2 separate regions of the Homo sapiens genome follow, and region 1 is linked to region 2. Evidence: promoter capture Hi-C in human tissues and cell types (Jung and others, 2019). All regions are on one chromosome and are shown on one strand. Each heading gives the region's core, a stretch centred on a gene start or on the middle of the fragment in contact. The rest is flanking DNA. Distances are from core to core; before and after follow the strand shown. Region 1 overlaps ZFP64 (ZFP64 zinc finger protein). Region 2 holds the start of ADNP (activity dependent neuroprotector homeobox).

Region 1 (5,391 bases), core at 1,636-4,135, 1.2 Mb before region 2:
TTTGTTCAGAAGGAAAGTCCACACCAAACCTGAGCGTCTTAGTCTCAGTTTGGGTTTTTTTAAGAGATTGGGCGGGTGGGGGGAAGGTCTCACTACGTCGCCCAGGTTGGACTCGGACTCTTGGGCTCCAGAGATGCTCCCACCTCAGTCTGGGTCATAGTTGGGACTTTAACGGCAGCCGCCAATACGCCTGGCTGCAGGATTCAATTTCAGAGCAAGAGACTCGATTGGCCCAGTTGCTGTCAGGTGTCTTCCACTGCACCAATCAGCAAAGGCAGAGCTGGGGCGTGGTCAGGGCTTCCAACAGGGCAGCGCCACTCACCCCTGGGGAGGGACATTTGGGCCGGTCTAACGCCCACTGTGGACGGTAAAGGCCGTTTGGGAACAGCGTAAGTGAAAGGGGTGGATTTTCTCTTTTCTCTCAGAAAATGAATTATTTTGGGGGCGGGGGCGGCAGCGGGGGTGCGGGGGGAAGGGAACGGAGTCTCACTCTGCCACCCAGGCTGGAGTGTAGTGCGATCTCGGCTCACTGCAACCTCTGCCTCCTGGGTTCAAGCGATTCTCCTGCCTCAGCCTCCCACGTGCCTGGGATTCCAGGCGCCCACCACCACGTCCGGCTAATTTTTGTATTGTAGCAGAGACAGGGTTTCACCATGTTGGCCAGGCTGGTCTCAAACTCCTGGCCTCAAGGGATCCGACCGCCTCGGGCTCCCACAGTGCTGGGATTACAGGCGTGAGCCGCCATGCCCGGCCTCAGACAGTGAATTCTGAGTTTACAGTTGGGATACTTGCCTGGAGATCAAGAACCCTAAATGAGAATCCTAAGCATGAACGACACTGCAAAAAACAACATACACAAAAAAATCAAGAGACCTGAATATATGATAATATCCTGCTGGGCGCGGTGGCGCTTGCCTGGACTCCCAGCACTTTGGGAGGCCAAGGAGGGAGGATCGCTTGAGTCTGGGAGTTCAAGACCAGGCTGGCCAACATGGCGAAACCCCGTCTCTACAAAAAATACAAAAATTAGCTGGGCGTGGTGGCGCATACCTGTTATCCCAGCTACTCAGGAAGCTTAGGCAGGAGAATCACTTGAACCTGGGAGGCAGATATTGCAGTGAGCCGAGATGGTGCCACTGCCCTCCAGCCTGGGAGATAGAGCCAGACCCTGTCTCAAAAACAAAACAAAACAAAACAAAAGATAGTATCCTTAATCTGCAAAAAGCATTTACAAATCAAGAAAAAAATTAAAATTCCAATAGAAAAAATGAGCTAATAGAATAAACAGGAAGTTCACCAAATAAGGCATGTCATTGGAAAAATAAATGTTGAAAGGGAGTTTAATCTCACTAATTACATGTAAAGGAAATGCAAGTTAAACTCAAGTGATCTCATTTTGTCCTCTCAAGTCGTCTCTGTGACAGCCAAGGTTAAGGGGAAAATGCAAATAATTTCAGTTTTCTGAAAGGATGTTATAATTATATAATCACCAAGTAATAAAACATCTGTACCATTTTAACCCAAGTCTTCAATTTCAAGGAATGTACCCAAAGAAATGAGGGATAAATTTAAACTTCTGGACAGGTTTTACTCATAAAAGTCAATTCCTAGATGTCTCCTCCATGTCCAAGAAAGGGAAATGGTTAAACTATTCAGCAACCAAAATGATGAAATATTATGTGGCCATTAGAGGTTGTGTTTTCGATGAATGACAACATGATAAGATGTTTTAACATGGCAAAAGTGTTTCATTAAAAATATATATTAAATGATTTAAGCCATGATCCTAGTTTTATACTTTTAAAATATACTTTTTTTTTTTTTTTTTTTTTTGAGATGGAGCCTCACTCTGTTGCCCAGGCTGGAGCGCAATGACGCGATCTTGGCCCACTGCAACCTCCGCCTCCCGGGTTCAAGCAATTCTGCCTCAGCCTCCCGAGTAGCTGGGATTACAGGTACCCACCACCACACCCAGCTAATTTTTGTATTTTTAGTAGAGACAAAGTTTTGCCATGTTGGCCAGGCTGGTCTCGAACTCCCGACCTCAGGTGATCCGCCTGCCTCAGCCACCAAAAGTGTTGGGATTACAGGCGTGAGCCACCGCTCCCGGCCCTAAAATATATTTTCTATATATAAAAGAGGTTAGCCCTTTAGCTGATCATTAATTAAACAAATGTTCTTTGAGCTCCTCCCCTTCACCTGGTTCTGTGGTGGGTGCAGGGGGAACAGTAATGGAAAGAAACAAGGGTCTGTCCTCACTTAACTCCTCCAACCAAATAGAAGAGAGAATAGTCATTTAATAATTTCTCAAATAAGTATTTAATCACAGTAGCGATAGGAGCTTTGTATAAAAAGTAAGGATGTAGGCTGGGCACCGGTGGCTCACATCTGTAATCCCAGCACTTTTGGAGATCAAGGCAGGGAGATTACTTGAGGTCGGGAGTTCAAGATGAGCCTGACCAACATGGTGAAACCCCCATCTCTGCTAAAAATACAAAAATTAGCCAGGCATGGTGGCGCACACCTTTAGTCCCAGCCACTCAGGAGGCTGAGGCAGGAGAATCACTTGAACCTGGGTAGCGGAGGTTGCTGTGAGCCAAGACTGCACCACTGCACTTCAGCCTGGCAACAGAGCCAGACTCCGTCTCAAAAAAAAAGAAAAAAAAAAAAGCAAGGATGTATATTGCCATGTTTTGACAGCATTGGGAAGTTTTTTGTTTTGTTTTTCTAGAGACGGTCTTGCTCTGTCACCCAGGCTGAAGTGCAGTGGTGCAATCATAGCTCACTGCAGCCTGGAACTCCTGAGCTTAAGCCATCCTTCCACCTCAGCCCCACAATTAGCTGAAACTACAGGCACACAGCATCACACCCAGCTATTTTTTGTATGGTTTTGTGGAGACGGCGTCTCCCTGTGTTGCTCAGGCTGGTCTCAAACTCCTGGTCTCAAGTGATCATCCTGCCTCAGCCTCCCAAATTGCTGGGATTACAGGCATGAGCCACTACACTTAGCCTAGTTTTTTCTTCTCTCAACTTTTCTGTGTAGAGAAGAAAATCCTAAAATTCATGTTAACTTTTATTTTGCAAAAATAAACATTGTCATTTAAAAAGAGAAAAGGATTTGTTAAATGGAATTTTTAAGTTGAAGAAGGGAAGGGGGAAGCAAATTAGATAGGGAGATATCAAAGCTGTCTTGAGATGTCTGAAAGGCAATTTGGTAGAAAAGGAGCTATGGTTGGTTCATGTGAGCCCTAAGACTCCACAGAGACAAACTTCAGAGAAATAGATGTGGATTATCTATTTCATGAAATTCATATAACAGTCATACATTTTAAACAACATCATGATCAAATAACTGAATATGCCCCTGCTACAAACCAGAACTAAATACAATAAGCAATTCTCAGATGCACACCTGAACATGCAGGAAAGAAGGGAAATCCCCTGGAGCCAGAAAACAAACCTGAAAGCTGCAGCAGGTGTGTGAGGCTGTGAGCTTCTTGGGGTATCGGGGACAGGGTCTGATCTCACTAAACAGGAGGCTTGATTTTAATGGCCACACCAGGGTAGAGGCTGAAGCCCTGAGCTCTTGCAAAAAGTTAGACATAAGACCCCCACATAAAGAGGTGGCCCGTGCTGCATTCTCGGTGAAAAGAGGGACTAGAGAATATTCTTGGGGCGTGGGCAAGTCACGCCTCTACTGGAAGCACTTCCCCCCAAGGTTATGAGTCATCCCGCCTCAGCAGATGTGGGGCGTTTCACCTTCTTCTAGGGTGCTCTGAGATTCCCCAAGGCCCATGCCACTCATTATGCCAAACCTGAATACAGATAAATAATAACCTATTATGCATAGTTACCGTAATGTCCACTGAGAATTCTCAAGAACTTGCAGTGTGCCCGACTTGCAGTATGCCTTATCCTTCCCTTGAATCTTTACTAGAACAACAAGATCTAAGCTCTGAGATCACTGCAATATCCCCATTTTACCGACAAAAGAACTGAAGAGCAGAGAAGTGACTTGGTCAAGGCCCTATAGCTAGTGAGAGGAGACAGAGGTTGGCCCAGGGTCAATCTGACTGTACACACACACACACACAAACACACACACACACACCAACACACACACACACACCCCTGGCAATGAGTGGTGACTGCAGCATCAAATCACATGCACACACCCAGGTTGGTCCAAGGTCCACTACACACACACACATACACTCACCTGGGGATGAGTGGCTACTCTGGCATCAAATTGCATACAAACACCCAGTTGGTCGGGCGCGGTGGCTCACGCCTGTAATCCCAACACTTTGGGAGGCCGAGGCGGGCACATCACCTGAGGCAGGAGTGTGAGACCAGCCTGGCCAACATGGTGCAATTCTATCTCTACTAAAAATACAAAAACTAGCTGGGCACTGTGGCAGGCACCTGTAGTCCCAGCTACTCAGGAGGTTGAGGCGGGAGAATCGCTTGAACCCAGGAGGCAGAGATTGCAATGAGCCGAGATCACGCCATTGCACTCCAGCCTGGGTGACAGAGCGAGACTGCATCTCAAAAAAAAAAAAATTGGGGAGGCCGAGGCAGGCAGATCACCTTAGGTCAGAAGTTTGAGAACAGCCTGGCCAACATGGTGAAACTCTGTCTCTACTAAAAATACAAAAATTAGCCAGGTGTGGTGGTGTGTGCCTGTAATCCCAGCCACTAGGGAGGCTGAAGCAGGAGAATCACTTGAACCCGGGAGGCGGAGGTTGCAGTGAGCCAAGATGGCGCCGTTGCACTCCAGCCTGGGCAACAGAGCGAGACTCCATCTAAAAAAAAAATGAAATAAAACACCCAAATTGGTCCAAGGTCAGTCTGACCATGCATGCTCACACATACGCACACACAGACACATACACATACACATACGCATACACATACGCATACGCATACACAGACACATACACATACACATACACATATGCACACACACCCCCTGGGGATGAGTGGCGACTCCGGCATCAAATCACATGCAAACAACCAAAGGGGATGAGGAGGCCTCTGGTTGCCAGCAGTCCCTCAGTGATTACCATAAGCCTTTCCCTGGGGTGTCTCTGCAGGTCCTGCTGTTCACAGCAGATTCTAGAAAGGCCACGTGTGTGGGAAGGGATACCCTTGATAAATCCAGCTAGGAGGCGCCAGCAAGCCGACCATCTGGATGAGAGTCTTCAGCACCCAATGCCCCTTTGTTGCTATTGAATTCTGGACACCTGCAACAGAATACTATTAATATAATAATTATATGCTTCCATGTTTTATATTCAAATGTTACCTTCTCACTGAGGCCTTCCTGGACCTACTTAAAATTGCATGCCCACCAGCATTTCCTGGTTCCCTTCCCTGCTTTATTTTTCT
Region 2 (5,409 bases), core at 1,795-4,294:
AACCTCTATCAGTAAGGAAAAATATTAATGACACTGAGGCAGAAACTTAGCTGCTACAGTAATTTTTAAACATCTTACTGAATTATATAACAATTTTTTTCTCAAAAGACTTGTTTTCATATTATTTAAAGACCCTCAGCAAAGCTCACATCCCTACTAATTTGAAAAATCTCTGCCTTAAGCTCTTCTCTCCATTTAGAAAAGTGTTCTGCCAGTTAAAATTTGGGCTAAGCTATCCAATAAAGCCAGGGCAAATATTATGTTTACCCACTTTCTCTAAAGTAGGTATTTCAGAAGAGATCAGTTAATTTCTAACTGTAGCATAGGTTATGGTCATGTAGTATCTTTTAAAATTTGAGTAAGGGCATGCTTTGAGCAAGTAAGTTTAAGTTGACTTTCTTCTGGAAATAAAAGTAAGAGGTGTCTCTAAATTATTTATTGAACAGTATTCCTAATTACTACATTTTCCTGGCTTAACTTGGCTGCTGAAGAAATTGAGGCCCAGCACAATGGCCCATGTCTATAATCCCAGCACTTTGGGAGGCCAAGGCAAGAGGATGGCTTGAGCACAGGCATTTGAGACCAGCCTAGGGAACATAGGGAGATCCTGTCTCTACAAAAATATAAAAAAAGCTGGGTGTGGTGGCACTCACCTGTGGTCCCAGCTACTTGGGAGGCTGAGGTGGGAGGTTCACTTGAGTCTGGGAGGTCAAGGCTGCAGTGAGCTGTGATCATGCCTGGACAACAGAGTGAGACCCTGTCTTTTTTAAAAGAAAAAAAAATGAAAATCTGATTTTTCATTTGCATTTCTCTCTGACAGATTCTACCAGAAATGAATCCCAGACTATAAAACCTGTGGTGTCATTTCGAACATTAAAACCACCCCCTCCCACGCTTCTATAGTTGAACCCATAGTACACATTCCAATAAGGGCCACTCTTGTTCTGTTTCCCTTATGTCCAGAACTGTCCAGCTGGCCAGTGAGGGAACTGCTTTCCTTAGGGAAGAAACTTCTCTCATTCATAACAAGAAGAAAATTCATCAGTGCTTGATGTGAAATTAGTTTTAAGCTAAGATAATAGAAATGTAATATTCTCAGTTTTTTTGGAGTGGTTAGAATTTATTTTTTCTTAACCTAAACTCAAAGTTGAGTTCTCAGTGTCAAGTATGTGGAGCAGAAATTAAGTAACAACCTTAGAGAACCTAATATAGATAGTACTGCCTTCTCAGATACTCACTAGAGTAGATAATGTTTGCCTTTTAAATCTTTTTAGTTATTCACACAATCATTATCACAACACTGTCACTCTTGGAATTTACCATAGAGTATTTGAGCAGTGAAGACTCATAGCATTTGGAAGTCATTTAGAAAAGAATCTGGAATATTTAGATGCATTTTTGTAGTAAATCTGGTGCTTAAACACTGTAAAATTAAATATTTACATCTGAATCCAGCATCCCATTTTGCTTTGTAAATGAGGCCAAAGATGAAATCCAGATGTTTTCCCTTGTATTTGTATTATCACTATATGGAATCTAAGTATATCTAAGAAAAACTAAACTTAAACTTACTTTGCTTATTTCATATTAGTTTTTATCTGTCTTCTGCAGTGTGTAATTAGATTCTTTAGTTTTCTGAATCAAATGCTTTGCCCCAACCCCTTTTTCCACGACTTTTTTCAGCTGTTTTCCCTTGAAATACTGACTTGGCTTTTAAAGATACATTTTATCACAATTGCAGAAATGTGTTGTATAAAAGTTTGTTAAACAGGGCTAACTGAAGTCTTAGATGTTGAACAGCTATGTGTAACCACAATTTATACTACTTGCAGCGAACTCAGATTATTTTCGGATGTTAAGTATGGCTTGAAACTATGTTAACTTGAAATGTAAAGAAACAGCAAAAGACAGGTGTATTTACCTAAAGATCACATATTAAGGAAACAGGCTTGGTTAATTCCTCACTATTGACATCTATTACTTGTCAATACATTTAACCAACCAATGATACTTTAAATCATAATGTTACTTTGAACAACCTACTTTAAAAGGTTGGTTCAAAAATGTTGAGGAGATAATGTATTGGTTGGGATTGACCTAAATTTACAAAGCAACCATGTGCTGTCTTATGCTACCCAGATTGTGGGAGCACCAAAAGCTATGTCCCTAGGACTACAAAGTGTGTTGTTTAAGGATCTTGCAGAGAGCCAATGCCCCTATTGGCAACATCACTTCTCATCCTTAAGTTTCACCAGTTGGGTGGCCTCAAGGCACTAGGATTCCCATTTTTTTTTTTATTCAGGTCAGAGAAGAGTCCATCACTGTGACTGGGAAGAATGTCAAGTCACAGGGTAACGGCGGACCTTAATAAAATCTCGGCCCCTCTGCACCGAATACCCCACCAGGAAGGGCTAAGGCATCCATGGGGTTGTGTCTCATCTCAAGTCGCTGTGTGAAGCACGAGGCCCTCACACCTCATTTAAGGCAGGAGGCGTCAGGGGCGACCGGCCAGGTGTCCCGGCGCCTTCCCGCCGCTTCTCAGCCGTGGAAGCGCGGGCATCTGAGCACGTGGAGCCGCCCCAGGCCGCCCCGCACACCCCTCCCGCCAGATGTAGTCCAGGCCCAGCTGGGCCCGCGCAGGGATCCCCAGCACGGCCACCTGACTGAGTGCTGGGCGTGCTGCGGCCCGCTGCTTCTGCCTCCGCCGCCGGCGCTGCGGCCAGAGGAAGGCGCCCGCCGAGCACACGGGCCCCGGGAGCGCACTGCGGCCATTATCCGCGGCGCCTCCTAGTGGGTCAATGGCAAATCCGCCTGGTTCTCGCGAGAGCTCCCCCCTCAGTGGGGATTATATAATTTCCCTCAAGCGGGGGTGGGGGTGCTGAGAGCACCCTCCCTCAGGAAAAGTTAGGTGCAAGCAGGGGTGGGAGTAAGAGGAACCCCCCCTGGGGAAAAGGGGGTTAGGGGTGCTGTCCCCACTGCCCCCCCCTATTTAGCTGGACAATGAGTCCTCTTATGCTAATGAGGCACTTACGTCACTTCCGCTCTTTCTCGGCCGCCATTTTGGCTAGGGCAGGTTCGGGGACTCGGTCCGAGGCGCTTGTATTGTCTGCTGAGGGGAGACGCGGGATCAGCCCCCTCCCCCGCCCGTTGCCGCCGCCGCCTCCGCCGGCCCGGTCTCCCCTCCGCCGCCCGCCGGGATCCATGAGCTGAACTCCCGCCCCCCCCCCCCCGGCCGCCGCCATCTTGTGCCCCCTCCCCCTCCCGCAGGCAGCGCTAAGGGGGATTTTGGCGTCTTCTCAGACACAGCTCCCTCTCTCGGTCCCCGCTGCTGAGGAGCGAGAGGAGCGCGGCCGCCGCCGCCCGCGCCGGTGAAGCCGCCTCTCCCACACCCTCCGTCTCCTCCCTCCGCCCCTCCTTTGTCTGCACCGCTCGACGACGCCGCCGCCGCCCGCCGCTCTGCTGCGCCCGCCGCGCCCCCCGGCAGCACCCGCGGCCGCGGCGCGAGCCGGAGTCCGCCGAGCCGGAGCGCGACGAGGCCCCGGGCGCGCCCTCCCCGCTGCCGCCACCGCCGTGCCGCCGCCATCCGCCCGCCGCCGCCGCCGCTGTCCGGCCCCCGAGCACGCCGGCCCCGCGCGCGCCTCGAGGCCGAGTCAAGGTAAGCCCGGCGCCGCCGCGCGCGGACCCGCGGCCCTGCCCTGCCTGGCTTCCCGACCCCGGCCCGCGCGGCCGCCAGTGCAGCCTGGCCCCGGGCGCGGGCGCATTGTTGTTCGCATCGCCGCCCTCCAGCCGCACACACGCTCCTTTGCACACCCCGGCGCCGACGGGTCCCCCGTCCCGGCACGGACCGCTACCCGACTCTGCTCCGGAGGTCCAGGCGCCTCCTCCTGCAGCCCGACCCCCTTCTCCGCCCTGTGAGCCCACCGAGGCCAGCACTCTGCCTGGCCGCCCGGAGCTTTTGCAGCTAAGGGCATCTCCCCCAGCCAGAACCGAGCTTCTCCCATCCTGGAACTAATCCCGTCCGCCCCCCACCCCCAAAAGGAGCCCCCCCACGCACACCCCCATGCCTTGAACCAGCCTTCTGCCAGGTCTGCCCACCCTTACCTGGGGGAGGGGGGACGGGGTTGGGGGGGGCGGGGAGCATGCATGGCATGGAGTGAGTCTTTGCCTCCCCTGTGCAATCCTTCTTCCCCAACCTGCCAGCTTTCCTCTTATCCTGACCACAGTTCACCACCATCCCTTTTCCCCAATCTCAGCTGCCTGGTCAGCACCTCTTTCGAACATTCTGAGCCCCAACTTTGCAGTAAGGTGGTAGAAAATGGAAATCCAGAGAGCTGCAAAAAGATTTTTTTTTAATGTAATGAATGGGGAGTAGTTTTGTGAACACACTCGTATTCACCTCTTCTTTCCTCTGGGAGGCCTGCCTGCCTTCCCCTCCCCCCCAACCTTGATCCCTGTCTGCTGGAAAAGGCGCGATTGCTTCTCTTCCTCTTCTGCCCAAGACCAAGACTCTAGGTCTGATATCCTTTTTAGCCACACACACACACCCCCCACACACGAAGTCTTCTTAATCTTCTTGAATTTACCAGTTACTCTGGACACTTCTTGCCATAACCCCATTTCACAGACAAAGGCTTAGGAGGGAAAAAGAACCAAACTGTTTCTGTGTTTGTCATGTTAATGATGTCCATCCCCACACACCCAGTTCCCATCCCTGATGCTTCTTGTGCCTGTATCTTGAACCTTCAGAATGAAAAAAAAAAAAATCTCTTGGATAGCTTGATACAGTTTCTTTAGAAATCTGCATTGTTGCTTCTGGTTTATGGCCATGGAGAAAATACCAGCCCCCACCCAAAATGCACCGCAGCCAAGTCGGCTAAAGGCGATGAGTGTTGGAGTCAGTAGGGGGCGCATTCTCTGCACTGGGTAAGGCTGCAGAGGGGGGAAGGGCCCCCGAGCTAGAACAGGATGTGCTTCACAGCGCCTTCTACAGACCATGGGAAAATGGGCCCAGCAAGACACACTCGCACTCTTAGTTGGTGAGCTGACAGCAACATGGCGAAGGATTAAGTGAGTCAAGAGCAGTGATTTTACTTCTTTTAAAGAGCCCACCCTGCATTTTAGAAGTTTTCTCCTTTTACTTTTTCAAAACTGTTGGCCCCCAGTCCATATTTGTTCTTGACGAATCACCTTGGCACATCCTTGGTTCGGATTCCCTTCCTCTGGAGTTCTTCCACCTCAAGTTTTGAATGTGTCACCATATCTTTCCTAAGTCTGGTGGTAAAGGAGAAGGTTTGAAACAAAGTAACAGGTTTGGGGGCATAGCTGGTTAACTCCCTTCTTCATAGGCCAAATCTTTCCAATTCTTTGAGAGTTAAAAATCATTCTTGAGAGATGTTGGATTAAGTGTGT

Evidence for each region. The method cuts DNA at HindIII sites, captures the fragments that hold promoters and counts their contacts. A contact is called where the count stands out against the background at its distance.
Region 1: a fragment that was not itself captured here is called in contact with the fragment with the promoter of ADNP in region 2 in 1 of the 25 tissues and cell types used here (lymphoblastoid cells).

What each region holds. Positions count from the first base shown.
Region 1 is chr20:52,170,925-52,176,315 of GRCh38, reverse strand. All of the region lies in intron 2 of ZFP64 (ZFP64 zinc finger protein), which reads left to right. Among named protein-coding and RNA genes, the nearest start is that of ZFP64, 18 kb to the left of the region's middle. The HindIII fragment of the contact is 6,575 bases long and covers 1-5,391 here.
Region 2 is chr20:50,929,072-50,934,480 of GRCh38, reverse strand. ADNP (activity dependent neuroprotector homeobox) reads left to right here and starts at 3,044. Exons shown (of 6, transcript NM_001282531.3): 1 at 3,044-3,655. ADNP-AS1 (ADNP antisense RNA 1) reads right to left here and starts at 3,497. Exons shown (of 3, transcript NR_110009.1): 1 at 3,427-3,497; 2 at 3,032-3,106. RefSeq lists silencers at 2,556-2,735, 2,599-2,786, 3,086-3,305, 3,456-3,505, 3,646-3,825 and 2 more and enhancers at 2,886-3,005, 3,425-4,215. The HindIII fragment of the contact is 17,322 bases long and covers 1-5,409 here.